Regions from separate parts of the Homo sapiens genome. Here all the other regions are linked to region 3. Evidence: promoter capture Hi-C in 16 types of primary human blood cells and fetal thymus (Javierre and others, 2016). All regions are on one chromosome and are shown on one strand. The core of a region is centred on a gene start or on the middle of the fragment in contact, and the rest is flanking DNA. Distances in the headings are between cores, read along the strand shown.

The links. Contacts are between HindIII fragments. The CHiCAGO score rates a contact against its expected background, and 5 or more counts as called.
Region 1: a contact is called between a fragment that was not itself captured here and the fragment with the promoter of OSR1 in region 3, in 15 of 17 cell types (megakaryocytes, naive CD8 T cells, M2 macrophages and 12 more). The highest score is 16.8, in megakaryocytes.
Region 2: a contact is called between a fragment that was not itself captured here and the fragment with the promoter of OSR1 in region 3, in 2 of 17 cell types (erythroblasts and total CD4 T cells). The highest score is 5.8, in erythroblasts.

Annotation. Positions count from the first base shown.
Region 1 is chr2:19,857,390-19,861,942 of GRCh38, reverse strand. No RefSeq gene overlaps it. Among named protein-coding and RNA genes, the nearest start is that of LINC00954, 9.2 kb to the left of the region's middle. The HindIII fragment of the contact is 2,179 bases long and covers 1,034-3,212 here.
Region 2 is chr2:19,841,879-19,846,403 of GRCh38, reverse strand. No RefSeq gene overlaps it. Among named protein-coding and RNA genes, the nearest start is that of LINC00954, 25 kb to the left of the region's middle. The HindIII fragment of the contact is 3,629 bases long and covers 1,188-4,525 here.
Region 3 is chr2:19,356,223-19,360,640 of GRCh38, reverse strand. OSR1 (odd-skipped related transcription factor 1) reads left to right here and starts at 2,018. Exons shown (of 3, transcript NM_145260.3): 1 at 2,018-2,300. RefSeq lists enhancers at 2,146-2,674, 3,340-4,304, 4,305-4,418. The HindIII fragment of the contact is 8,359 bases long and covers 386-4,418 here.

The DNA of each region.
Region 1 (4,553 bases), core at 874-3,373, 500 kb before region 3:
GATTCCAGGGAACAGCCTCACTTAGCTCTTCTAGGACACTTACATGTTCAAAGAGGAGTTTGTTAATTCCTAAAGAGGCCCTTTTGCCAAATGGAGATTATTTTGTAATGTGAATGTTTGTCCCCATTACAAGTCACTCAGTTAACAAGTTAGCATGTTTTCTTTCTGTGTCTCTGCTGCTGACTCAGGGGCCCAGGACTGGCTCTGGCTTCTGCACAGGCAGGTGTCCTCTTTGGAGGCCACCCCCACCATCCCCACTGACAGTGGTAGCCTGAGCCCACTTTCCCACTTCCCTCCTCAGTAGGAAGGACCAAGATGGGAGCCCTGCCCAGCACTCCCTGCCTCTTCTCCCCATGCCCCCATGGCTCCACTCTGGTTTTGTAAGAGTGGGCTTGCTCATTCGCTGTGATAGGGCTGCTTTTAGCCTCCCTGACCAGACAGGTTGCCCCTGGGGCTGAATATGTGGCCTCCTGGCAGTGGGGCTCTGTGGAAGTGCTGAGGCCCAGGAAATGTGGCACGGGGCACTACACGTCTGGCTTTAATGAGCTATGGCCTTCAGCTGTGGAAGGCTGGTGGTGTGGGGAACTGAAGAGTTCTGGGAGGAGGTTGGGGGCGAGGGGCTGCCTTCCAGGCAGGGTGCAGGAGCCTTGGAGAAGGTGCTAGAAGCTGGGGTTCCTGTGCCAAGGGCTGGGAAGGCAGGCAGAGTCCTGGTTGGTGGAGTCATGGATAGGGGCTGGGGTGGGTGTGGGGCTGGATGGTTTGTCCTGCTCCCATGCCAGCCTCCCTCTGAGTTTGTGGGCCCCTCCTGAAGTCTTGGTGTGCCTGGACCTGGGTTAAGCCACACTGCAGGGAGGTACATGTGTACAAAGTGATCTTTCTTCCAGAAGAACACAGTCTACGAAGGCATTTCTGCAAACTTGTGAGATGCCTGTGCACACCTTGTGGTGGCCCTGAACTGATGGCTGAGGTGTGCTATAGAAATTAGAGAAGGGAGGAAGAAGTTCATTGCCGGTTGAGCAGTTCAGGGAAAGCTTCCTGGAGGAGGCGGAGTTTGAGCAGGGCCAGTGGGGATGGAGGGTTTGTCCTGGAGGAAGGAGAAGGAGGGCAGTCAATGCAGGGAAATAACACACCTGACATGTACTCATGTTAGGGGCCACGTCCGCACCTCTCAACTCCCTTGCTCATCTCCAGGGCTTGCATCTGACTGAACTTCCCACTCTTCCCTCTCTACTCCAAGCCTCTCTGGCCCCCCACCTTTGCCCATGCCCCCATTCTCTCCAGCTTGTATGTGTATCTCACCCCCGCATCTTGTTAGCTCTGTATGCTGAAATCCTGCTAGCGTGTCCGGACACTTCTTGTTGGTTTCACCTTCCTCCATTTCTCTCAACCTTCCTCTCTGCACCAGAATCCGATCCATCTTCGCCTCACTTGGCAATTATAATCATTCAACCTCCCCCAAACCCTTGTTCATAGCCCAGCACACATCTGCAGGGCCCACAGTTTGCTGGGCATTGGGGGTGCACATTTTCTGCCTGCAGAAGTCCCAGGACTGGCAAGGTTCATACTGAGATGCCAGCCTGGGGACTCTGCCAAGGCCTTGGCAAACTTGTCTCAGCATCTCCCAGGCATTTGCCCCTTCCTGCCAGGAACAGGGCAGAGGCGGAGGTGACTGTTTCCCAAGAGCAATGGGCAAATCCATCTTGCTTGGGTTTATTCTCGTCATTTCCTGAAGTATTAGGTCACCCAGGTTGTTAGTGAGGACCTTATTTGGAGAGCCTGGCTTCCTGGTATGAAGTGGAGAACCTAGGAGGGGCAGGCCCTCTGGTCTTAGTGGCTACGCCATCAGAAACACAATCGTGTTTCTCTTTCACCGCAAGCACTGGGAATTGAAGTATGTACGGAAATACAATTCATAAATTGAGGGACTTTATTTTCACTGTTCCCAGGGTTTAATTTCCAGAAACAAAATGTCAGTGTTATGGCTGAAGTTCTCTTAGTTTTAGGAAACACATCATAACCCAGAATTGTTTATGCATAGTTCATGTATTATATGACAAGAACGGTTTTGAGAGTCATCAAGGGTCAGAGGACTGCGGTTACACGGCAACAAGGCGATCTGAGTGTGGTGAGTGTGGTGAGTGTGGGGATCCAAACCTCGATCTTACGTCTCCCCTCCCAGGAAAATCCCAGGGAGTGGTTGTTCTTCTAGAAGCCTGCAGCTGCGGGTAACCGGTTACCAGGGAGTGCGTGGACCTGTTGCTCACAGAGAGCCTGTGTGTGTGTGTGCATGTGAGCATGTACTTATGCGTGTGAGCATGTGTGCCTATGTGTATGTGCGTGTGCATGCACACTTGTGGTTAGTGTGAGAAAGAACACTGGCCGAGGCAGGAGAAATGGGCTACAGTCCTGCCCACCCACTTGTTACCATTGTGGCCGCTCCCCTGCGTCTGCAGTGTGGGTGCACGGATCCCTTCCTTAGAGGTCACCCAGCATTTCATGACATCTGTGTATTAACAGCAGAAGTGAAGGGGCTCTCGGGCAGCCTTGGGGATTCTGGAAATGCCCACTGGAGGAGCTGAGGCTTGCTGGACACTGGGCGTGTGGTCCTTGGATCTTTCCCAGTGGCGCCATGGGCCACGGATTCCGGCGGGGCTCAGGATCCAGTGGCTCTCCTACCTCCTTTTCCTTCACGTGGGTTGTTGGGCCCCTCCTGCATGCAGCGCAGCCAGGTGGTGAAGGTGAGAGCCGCTGCTGTCGCTGCTCCTGGCCTGTGGGAGAAAAGTCCCTCCAAGGTCACCTTTGTAGCTTGTTCATGAGCAGAGCATCAATTGGATCTAATATTTTTACAAGATGCCCCCCAAATAAAGATCAGCATTTGGCTCAGTTCATTTCAGCAGAGGGCTCAGCTTTGTCTGCTGCCCTGTGTATGGAGGGATAGACAGGAAGCGCCACTTCTAGAGATAGCTCTGGCTGCTGCCTCTCAGGAATCCTGGCCTGGGCGGCCTGACGGGGCTACCAGCTTCCCTCCTGAGGATCTGTTGGTGGCTCACACCAGGTAGGTTTAGGGGTGAGGGCTGGGCGCACCTGGCCAGGGCCTCTCCGCAAGTGCAGAGCCCTTGGTCCATCTCGTGCCTCCACTGGGATCCCCGTGTCTCCGCTTCTGCCCTGTTTCAAACTCCAAACAAGATTTTCAGATGGCAGAAACTGAAGCTTGGAGGAGAACAACTTAGATCAAGTTGACTTAGTGTTTGCTCTCAGCCAACGAAGCCCTGAGGCTGCCTTCCTCAGGGAGCTTTGCCCACATTTCTGAAGAGTGTGCAGGGCACGTTTCTGGAGGACAGAGCCTGCATTTCCAGACAATGGCTTTCAGAGGATGCTCTCAGGTCTCCCGTGTGCCCTGCCTGTGGTTAAGTGTCTTTCTGCTACATAAACAGCTCAGAGACTCAACTCTCCCGAGACCGAGACCGGAGAGGAGCTCTTACAGTGGTAAGAATCCACCTTGCCTCTGGCAAAGTTGCTCTGGATGAGGTTGATTGAGCTGCATGCCTCCATTCCTTCCAGAACAATGTCCCTCCTCACCTACATCCATGCCCAGCCTTTGGAGCCAGGGGCCCCACAGGTGCTGGTTGCTGGGATAGATAAGGAAAGCCTCAAGCCCCTTCTGAGACCCTCCCTACTAGCCACACATCGGAAGGAACAGAACTTTGAGCTCCCTCATCTGTAGCCGAACCTAGTGTGAGAAGGAGGGTCAGAGGAGGCGAAACTTTGAAATCGCAGGGCCACTCCTCTGCCAGCCCCATCGGCCTCACTCTTGGAGACTCGGGGATGAGTCACTGCTCTGACAAGCGGGTCTTGAGGACAGTCCTTGCATGCACAGCTGATGGGGAAGGTTCCCTGCTCAGGCACCGCTTCCTTCCTTGAGCAGAGCAAAGGGCCATCCTCACAGAGAGGCTTGCTTCACCTGTCGCGTGTGGCCCTGGGACTCTGGAAGCTGCTAGTGTTGTGGTGGTGGCTGCTGTCCCGGTGCGGCAGAGGACACAGGAGGCACGCTCCTCCCGCCAGTGGGGAATTGCAGTGTGTTACGTGGCACGAGAGACTCCAGCGCTGTTCTGAAGATGCCAATCCATGCTTGGGTTGTTTGGATTTGCTGTTAATTTGGGGACTCTGGCTACCCCGTCAAAGGCATGGAGTGTGCAGTTTTTAATAATTGTGATCCAACCATGCCATGATATGGGCTTTCTGGTTTCCTGGACACTGGGCAGCAGTAGTTTGAAGTTGGGAGATATTTACTCTGCAAAGCATTTTTCCAAATGTTCTTTAAGCTGATGCTCCCAGACTTTCATCAGGAGCCGGGCAGTATCGCCTCCCCTCCCCGACTTGTTCTTCTGGGGTCTGATGGAAGGAGATGGGGTCTGGAGGCCTGCAGGGGCAGGGAGCCTTGTTTTACTGCATGGGAATGTTGCTGAGTCTATCTTCCTGATGTTGTTCTTACATTATTTCCTCTGGTTGGAGTGAACAGGGAAGTGGGGGCACATCTGTGTTCTATGAAAGCT
Region 2 (4,525 bases), core at 1,753-4,252, 480 kb before region 3:
CTGGAAGGTGTTTAGGGAGGCAGCAAGCCCTTTCCGACTGGACAGCAGCATATTCTGGAGCTTCTTGCCTGGGAAACAATCAGTTGCTGGGTTTGACTCTTTCTGCTGTCACCATCAGCATGTTTCCCAATCAGGAAAAGAACTTCAGCTTCCCTGTTGGCACTGCGCCACCTCCCTAAGCAAGGTGTCTCTGGGGAATGCCTTGGTTGGCTTACCCTTTGGTGTTCACAGTGTTGGGTATAGACTGAGCCCCACAGAGCCCTAGGAATCCTCTGCCAGCGAGGCTGTGTCCCCAGGACAGAGCTGATGTGCTGATTTGCAGCCTGTGAGTGGAATTGTGCTAGGCTGGATATGTGGGGTGCAGACACTCGTGGATGGGACAGAAGATATACTCAGGCAGGTCTCTGCCAGAACTCAGGAAATATGGCCTCTCATCAGCTCATAGAAAAGAATATTCTTATGAAGATCCTTTGGTGGAAAATACATTTTGGTGCTAGATTCCAGTGGGTTTATGCTTTTGCTGTCTTTCAGTGTGTGTAGCAAGAGCCTGTGCACAGATTCAACATCTAATTTACAAGGAGTTTGGAAGTCCAAGATGTTCTAGCTGTAGGCAGAGACTGAGCTCTCTGGATGTGCCTCTCCAGCATGCGGGGACCATTGCCTCTGTGTGTGTATGTGTGTGTGTGTGTGTGTGTGTGTGTGTGAGCACATGTGTGCCTGTGTGGGGAGATGACACCCATAGGGGGCTGGTTGTGTGTGGTCCTGCCCATATTCTTATCTATACCCTTGGGCACACATGTGTCCATCACACCTGGGTCCAGTGCCAAGACTTCCGTTCGGACTTTGGAGCCATGTGTGACCACATCTGTGCCATGTGTGATCCTCAGTAGAGCTTTCTTCTGGTTCAGTGGGGAGATTGTAACCCAGCAGGAACAGCGCCCTGGGGGTGGCTGCACAAGTGCTTCTGCTCTGGGGCCTCCCTCCTGGCCCCCTGCCAGCCCCAGTATGGAGGGGAAGGGGCTTTGAAAAGCTTCTCGCCTGTTAGCTGTCCAATATGCTTGAAAGGATACCAGCCTAATGAGTGAAGTTTTAGTAAATCAAGACCATGTGGTCAGCTCCCCCTTGAGATGCTCCTAGTTTAAGAAATTGGTGGGTGGGAAACATTTTTGGCAATCACCCCTGAAGCTTCTCTTATATCCTCTTTCTTTTTGCTCTTCAACCCCCAAATCCGAAAGAATCATATGGTTTATTTTTAAAACAGAAACAGCCCTGGATTGCCCGGTCTCCAGGGGCAAGAACATCTCTTCCCATCATTCAGGTCTAACCTGGGGACAGAAGGCAGCCCTGGTGTGAGGGACAGAGGCTTGGGGTCAGGGGTGGTGGAAGACGGGGCATCTTTTGTGCTCATAGTGGGCCAGATGACATGGGGAATCCCAGCGTTTGCCTGCAATGCCTTGGAAAGAGCAAGCTGGAGCCCAGAGAGGTGTGGGAATTGGCTCAAGGTCATCCAAGGAGGCAGCACCAGGGTTGGCTCCTTCGCCCATGCCTCCTGCTTCCAATTTGGGGTTCTTTCTATTGAGAAGTCTCAGATTTGAACGTTGGGGTGGGGTTTGAAGAAGAAAAATCTTAGAGAAAGAAGAGGAAAGACTTTAGATTATAGAAATGAGCAAGGGAATTCCGGGATGATGGGAGAGAGGAAAGTATGAAGGAGCAGGGGAATAAGCTCATCAAGAGTGAGAGAATTGTGTGATCAGAGCCCACAGGGCATGGCTGCAATGCAGTGAGTCAGGAGTGTTTGGATCAAGCCTGCCCCACATTGTAATTCCATAGAATGGCTGTTTCTGAGGGTAGGAAGCCTGCAGGGGTCTAAGGCCAGTGTTCCATGGCAGTTTATATTGCAGGGAGCCTTGGGGGCTGGCACTCAGGTTGGGGGAAATTGGTGTTGTCAGACAGATCTTGCCTTTGCTCCCCATCCAGGAATACACTTGAACTTGACTGTGGATTGGGCAGAACTGGCAGTGTGAACTTTCACACATTCCTGACCCTTGCTAAACTGTTCATGGCTCTCCAGCAAAGGCATGGGTGAGCAGGGGGAGCACCCTGGTCCCCTGGGCTTGAGTCTGAGCCCCACTACCTTCTCACCCAGTGACCACTGGCACATGTGTTCCCTCCCCCAGGCCTTCCTGTCCTCATCAGTGGGTGGTCTCAGCACTTCTTGCCCTTCTACCCATGGCGGGCCCCCTTGTTTGTGTGTTTAGCTCGCTCTTCTCTGTTCTTCTGGCAATAGTGCTCCCTTCTTCTCCATGGATGGCCTCTCCTCCATGTGAATTGAGTGCTCCTCATGGAGGCTGCCAGCTGTACTCACTCTCCTCCCAGCCCTGCTCATGATCAGAATGAGGTCAGTGGTCTCATCCCACTCCTCTGGCCACAGTCATTTTATAAGAGAATGTCAGGAAAGAACATGACCAAAATTGTTCCTGAACATATAAGACACCCACTGGTGAAATCTTCACTAAGAAATAAGAGAGAGAGACTTGGAGGGGTGCTGAGTCCATGTGCAGTGCATGGAAGCTAAGAGCCTCCATTGTGCTGTTGTTAATGTGACCAGATGTCAACCCATGGGCTGGTGGGGACTGAGAGGGTATTGAAATACAATAGGGTTGCATCTACTTGGTAACTTTTGCTCTCCAGGGAGAGAAATCCCAGCACAAACCAGGGTAAGCAAAAAGAGAACTTATCAACTCACTTCTCTTAAAAGGCAGAGGTTGGGCTGGTTTCAGGTGGCACTTCACTCAGTCAATGTCACCAGGGTCTAGCCTCTCTCTCGTCTCTCCCTCTTCCTCACCTTCAACTCCACTTCCTCTGGATTGACTCCATTTGGAGGCCAGATCCGTCTCTCAGGGTACTAAATGGCAGCCTTAGCTCCCAACCTGATATTCCCTCAGATTCAAGTCCAGCAGGAAATATTAATAGCAGCGGTCTCTTTCCCAGAAAATTCTGCCAGTGTCTCATTGCCTCTCATTATTTCTGACTGAGTCCCAAATTAATTGTTGTGACTGGGGAGCTGTGATAATCTAGTTGGTTTTTAGGCTTACATTATAGGCTCCAGCCCTAATTATGGTGAGAAGCTCCACCAAAACCTAGGATCTAAGAGTGGAGGAGAGAATACATTTATCAGCAGAAGGGTGAGTAGATCCTCAGAGGCAAAGGCCACAGGAGTCTCTCTCAGAGACCTTTAGCACTCAGCAAGCTGCCCACACCTCAGAGCCACTTTCACATTCTCTGTTCATCGTCATGGACACTGTAACTGCTATGAGGTGATTCAACACTTGGTTCCAGTGGGAAAAGGAATGACCATTAAAGAATGCCAAAAACTATTGCTGGAGATAGATGTATAGAGAAACTGGGTGGGTTAAGAAAATGAGCGTTTGAAGTTTTGGACAAATTAGAAGAAGGAATGTTGAATTCAGCAGGGACTCACTCCAATGGTGTAAATGAATTTACCAGGAGTTCTATAAGAAAACACCAGGCATCTCCTGAAACCATTTTAACAGCTTCTCTAATGGTTCAAAATGGCTCCCCAAATGAGAGAAAACTAATGGAAGTTGGAAAAACAGTTACCTGTGATTCAAGAGAAAGCCTGGATCTGGTACAAACATTTGAATTTCCTTGACTCTATAGTTCATAGACATCTAAGAGTGCATCGCTTATGGAAGTTAAGGGCCCACCCTTCTTTCTGCCTTTTCTGCTGCAGAAGCAGTCTTGGTATCACACAGGAACGTAGGAGACTGTGATTTTTGCATGTCCAGCACCTCGTTTTTCTACTTCAACAAGCAGCACCCCAGCTCTCCTTTGGGCGAAATCCCCTTCCCCCATGCTCATTTCATGCAGTTCAGGTGGGACCAGCAACCGACCCCCACCCACCTGTAAGCTGCTCCAGAGTGAACGTGTGACCCAGGGCTGGCCGATCTGCTTATTCCATCTCCCTGGTCACAGTAATTGGTTCAAGAATGGGCAGATGGCTCAAGTCAGTGAATCAGAATCAATCATGGAACTTCTATTGGAGCTATGAGGAAAGGGCCATGAGGGTGCTAAGCTGGTAGGATGTTCACTGAGAGCCACTGGTGGAAGCATTGCTACTTCAGACAGAGCCTGAGAATGAAGGCGACACAGAGACAAGCAGCGCCAAAGTTTGGTGAGAGATACGGTCCTGTCCACAGCTTCTGAGGGCCTGAATCAGCCATGCCTGAATTTAGACCTATCCCTAGAATTTTCAGATACAGTGAGTTCTGTGTGTGGGTTTCTCCTTCTCCTCCCTTTCCCCTCCCCTCCCCTCCCTCCTTCCCTTCCTTTCCTTTCCCTTCCCTTTCCTTCCCTTCCCTTCCCTTCCTTCTTTTTCCTCTTACCCACTCTTATTCTTCTTTCCTTCCCTCCTTTTTCCTCTTCTTCTCCCTTTTTTTCTTCTTCCTCCTCCTCCTTCAGCCAGTTTGATTCATTCATTTAATAGATATTCACTGAGTGACCA
Region 3 (4,418 bases), core at 769-3,268:
CTTAGGGCTTTCTGGAAGTTCTGAGGCATATTGGCCAAGGGCCCTGTTTTAGAAAAGAAAGACAAGGAGAAACATAAAAGAAGCCCAGCTGAGTTATGAGGGGTGCATAGCAGGAGTTTGGGTATTTACACCCCAGGAGGTTCCATCCCACCTGAATGACCAGCCACTATTCCTAAGTGATCTGGACAGCCAGAGGCCCTATCGTGTGGGCATTTTTTTTACTTCTTAACTTTTGCTGCTGGTAATGGAGGTTACCCAAGCTTTGCTTATTTGGAGAGCCTGAGGCTGGAACAAGCACACTCCCTGTGCCCAAGGTGGAAGCCAGCAAAGTTCAGCATTGCCCTGTGTAGACTTTCCCTCCAGGCCTTTCCTTGCCCTTGAAGCTTTCTGTTCTGGAATCTCTAGGAAGGAGGTGTGATCTCAGCTCTCTTCTCTTCCAAGGGTTCTTACTCTAGCAAGAATGTCACTACATCCTAGCAACTGCTAAGATTCCAGGAGCATGGACAAACTTATGTGAATCTCTTACTTCTGCACTAACCTGAGGCACTGGGTAAAAGCTGTTCGTTGGAGCAAAGATTGCACCCCCTCTTACTCCTCCTCAAACAAGACGAAGTTACCCAGGGGTTAGAGGCTAGATTCTGTTCTAAAGGCCTGGGGATATAAGGAAATCCTCTTTCAACTATGCCTTTGAGGGAGGGGAGTCTTCATTACCATCTCCCTAGGTCAGGTATTACAACCTTCTTCACCTCCCAAGAAAATCAGATTAGCTTTGCAAACCAAAGCTGGAGATAGCAGAAGCTCCTCGGGAGAGAAGCAGTACAGTACTTAGGGACCCACGGAATCTAGGATCCAGCTCCAAGAGTCACTCAGCAGCAACTCTGGGGCAAAGGCAGAGAGTGCAGTTGTGTGATCTGGACCCACACAAGTCCCAGGAAACCAGTGACTCCTCCTTGCCAAACCCAAGGCCTGGAAGGGTATTCCAGAAAGGCATTAGGGAGGGATTGGGCTGGGGTCAGCCGGAGGTCAGCTTTCAGAGATGGGTAGTCAAGGGGGTGATGGTACCCTCCATAATGCCTAGGCAATGAAGATAGAATTTTTAATGTCCAGAACTCTGATTCCTTTCCGATTAAAAACTCCACCTGAACCAGCTCCTTGACTCAGAGGCCCTGGAACTGACAACTTTGCAGCTCGTCTAGCTTGCCAGTGCGGCTCTCTAAACTCTGATCCATCCTAAAACAAATATGTAAGTAGAGAGTGCCACTGTGCATTGGGGTGAAATCTCAGAGAGTTCTGGGCCCCAGGAAAATAACTTTCCTGACCTCCTTTCCCTACTCTTTGTTCTTTCTACTGGACTCCAGAACTTAGGGTCTGGGGTCAACCATAAGCACTCAGATGTTACAGCTCGCTTGCTTCGGTGACCCTGGCCCTCCCGCACCAGGAATTAACCAGCGCTGCCTGGGTTAACACCCTGGCCCCGAGCACGCTTGGATAGCCAGGAGCTGCTCCACACTCGGGGTCTGCCGCCTCTGGAAAGAGATTCTGGGAGGAGATGCGACTCTGTCAGGCGCCAAAGTGCGTTGAAACCCAAGCCGCGGTGTGGGGATCCCGGTGCACAGAGCTACTGCCCCTCCCTCCCTCCTCCCAAAGAGCACGGGCTGTGTCCTAGGAGCCCAAGTATAGGACCTCGAAACGTGCGGTGCCAGCCCGCTCTCATCTGCTAGGGACCGTTTCCTCCAGTGCGCCAGGCGTGCCGCTCTGGACCTAAAAAGGCAGCAGGGGTCGCGCGGGACTGAAGAGGAGGGGACGCAGGTTGGGAGAGGCCGGGTCCAAGCGAGAGCAGCTGCCAAAGTCTGCTGCCCGGGTCAGCAAAAACTTTGTCTTTCATTGCGCAGGCGCAGGGCAGGGTTGGGGGGCAGGGGAGGGAGGGGAGGAATCCTGAGGCAAGGGGCGGGGGTGGGGGTGGTGGAGGAGGGAGGGTGGTGGATTAAAATAAGTAGGCGGCTCGGTGCTAAGGGATGAGTGAGTCGGAGCTCGGCCTCTCCCCGGCACGTTCTCAGCTGCTCCTGGTTCAGACCCAGCGAGGGAGCCGCGAGCGAGGCTCACCGTCCCCGGCGTGCAGGATCCGGGGCTGCTGAGCGCTCGCTCCCGCGTGTCCGGCGCTTGGAGTCCCCGCGGCAGGAGAGGAGTCGGGACACTAGAGCTCCAGGGGCGCCTGTGGGCTCCAGGGCCTCCGGCTTCCCCAGTCCCCTTCAGCTAAAGCCCCAGAGACGTGCTCAGCCCCAGGACCTCTGCGGAACAAGGTAATTGCAGTCCTGGGCGCCTGGGCTCAGCAAAGCGAATGCGGGCAGGACTCCCAGGTTCCTTGTCACTGCTCGGCGGGTGCCTCCTCTCTCTCAATGCCCCTGAAGGAAGCTCTTGCCAAACGAATGCTGTAGGACTTTTGTGAAAGTGAGAGCAGGGTGGTTGGGGGTGCTGCCTCAGGACTTCCTGCGCGGGGTCCTCGGCCTCTGACCGCTGGGGATTAAGGGGGGCGGGCCTCCGCTACTGCGGCCAGCCCGCCCGGCTCTGCGGAATCACGGGCGAGGTGCCCACGGACTTTGAAAGTCAATCTGTGGGCCCCCTTTAAGAAACCAGAGCAACTTCAGCGGGCACAAACTTTCCTGAGACGCGCTCCTAGCTCTGGCTGACGCCCAGGTTGACGAAGAAGGAAGGGAGAGGGAGTGAATGGCCACAGCCGCAGCCGACCGCGCCAGGGACAGGTGCATGCCCCAGCTCGGTAGCGCTTTCGTTCAAGTTTGTCTTTTGAGGAGTTGCGCTCTAGTATGAGGCCGCCTAGACCCGAGAGCGCAGGGCTGCGAGTCTGAACCCCGCCTTGCACTCGCGCTCTAACTTAGGGATATTCTCCATAGGATGATTGCTCTGTGTCGTCAAGGCCTGGAGCGGAACCCTTGATTGTCCTGGTGCAGGGAGGCAATGCAGTGGGCGCAAGCACTGCTTTCCAATTCGAGACCCACACACAGCACTAGTGGAAACTCTGTGGAGCCCTAGGGTCTCCGGGCTGGGGACAGGAAAAGTTCTGTTACTCCCCTGACTGTCCGCTAATCCAGCCGTCAGGAGAGAAAGAAGGGGGAAAGGGGTGAAGGGCTGCCTGCTGAACTAATTTCTCCTCGGAAATGTCTCGGAGAAGAATGAAAAACCACGTTTAGTCCTTTTTCAGCAGCTCAGGCAGTAGCGGGTTGGGTTCTCAATGTGTAAAGTAGCCGCAAGGGTTTCTTTGTTGCCACAATTTGGTAAATTTCACCCAGGCTAAGAGCTGCGCATTGGCTCTGCGGAACAAAACCACGTGCAAGGCTAGGTGTCCCAGGTTCACAACCCCCTAGGGAAGAGAAGCGCTGGAGGGGACTAGCAGCGACCGGCGGCGTGTAGATGTTCCATCCCAGGCTCCTCGAGGTAATTGCTGTTTTATTAAGATTGGGGAATGGATCACCGAGGACGCAGCGGACATTTAAGTGCAGCCGGATGACCGCCTTGCCAATGGGTTCGTTAGATCTCGTTTGTTGGGAGAATGCTATAGAAGTATCCGGTGCCGGTCAGTCCTCTTCACGGGGGTCCGGACGCCTGTCACCACTCGTTGGAGATTCGATGTCAAGGCTGATTTTCTTGGGTTGCTGCTGGGCTCCCCCAGGCGCAAACTCGTGGAGTTCGCTCCCGTTCTCATTAATGCAAGCAGTTAACTTGCTCACGCTCAATTAGCCCCGAATAAACCACTTTAATAGACTCTGCACACTTCATTAATGCCCAGCATAGGACTGGCCGCAGACCTGGGATTGGCGCTCCACCGCGCGAGGGACGCGAGTGCCCGCACTGCGCAGGGACTCGGGATCCCGAGCGCGAATTGCGTCTGCTGTGCGTGGTCGGGTCCCCTTATTCTTTCCCGCAGGTCCTGAGGCCCAAGCTGTTTGAGGAATGGGTGCCTAGCCTGGGGAAGGGTTTTCCATCCTGTGTTTAAAGATCGAAAGTATTCGCCCTGGGGTTCCGCGGTCTGGGAAACCGGAGCCGGAGGAGCCGGGGGCTCACTCATCCTTTCTGGCTGGAGAGGCTAGGGTGAGACTGTGTTTTTCTCTTAACCGACCTCCTGAAACCGGATCGTGCTTTCGGCCCATTCTTGATACTAGTGTAAAGAGCCACGTTTCGAATGAATTTCGTCCTGGGGAAAGTCGTTGGCGGGAGCCTGGGGAGCACTGGCTTCCGAATGCTTCAGAAAACAAGGAACGGGCTGGGCCGCGGAAGAAAATAAATGTAGTGTTGGGGAAAACAAGATCGGGCAGATAGCCCGGAAAGGTTGGCTCCCAGGAACCATTATAGCTGCAAGCACTCCCCCTTCCCGGCACCCCCTACGGAGCCCAAGACGGCTCCGG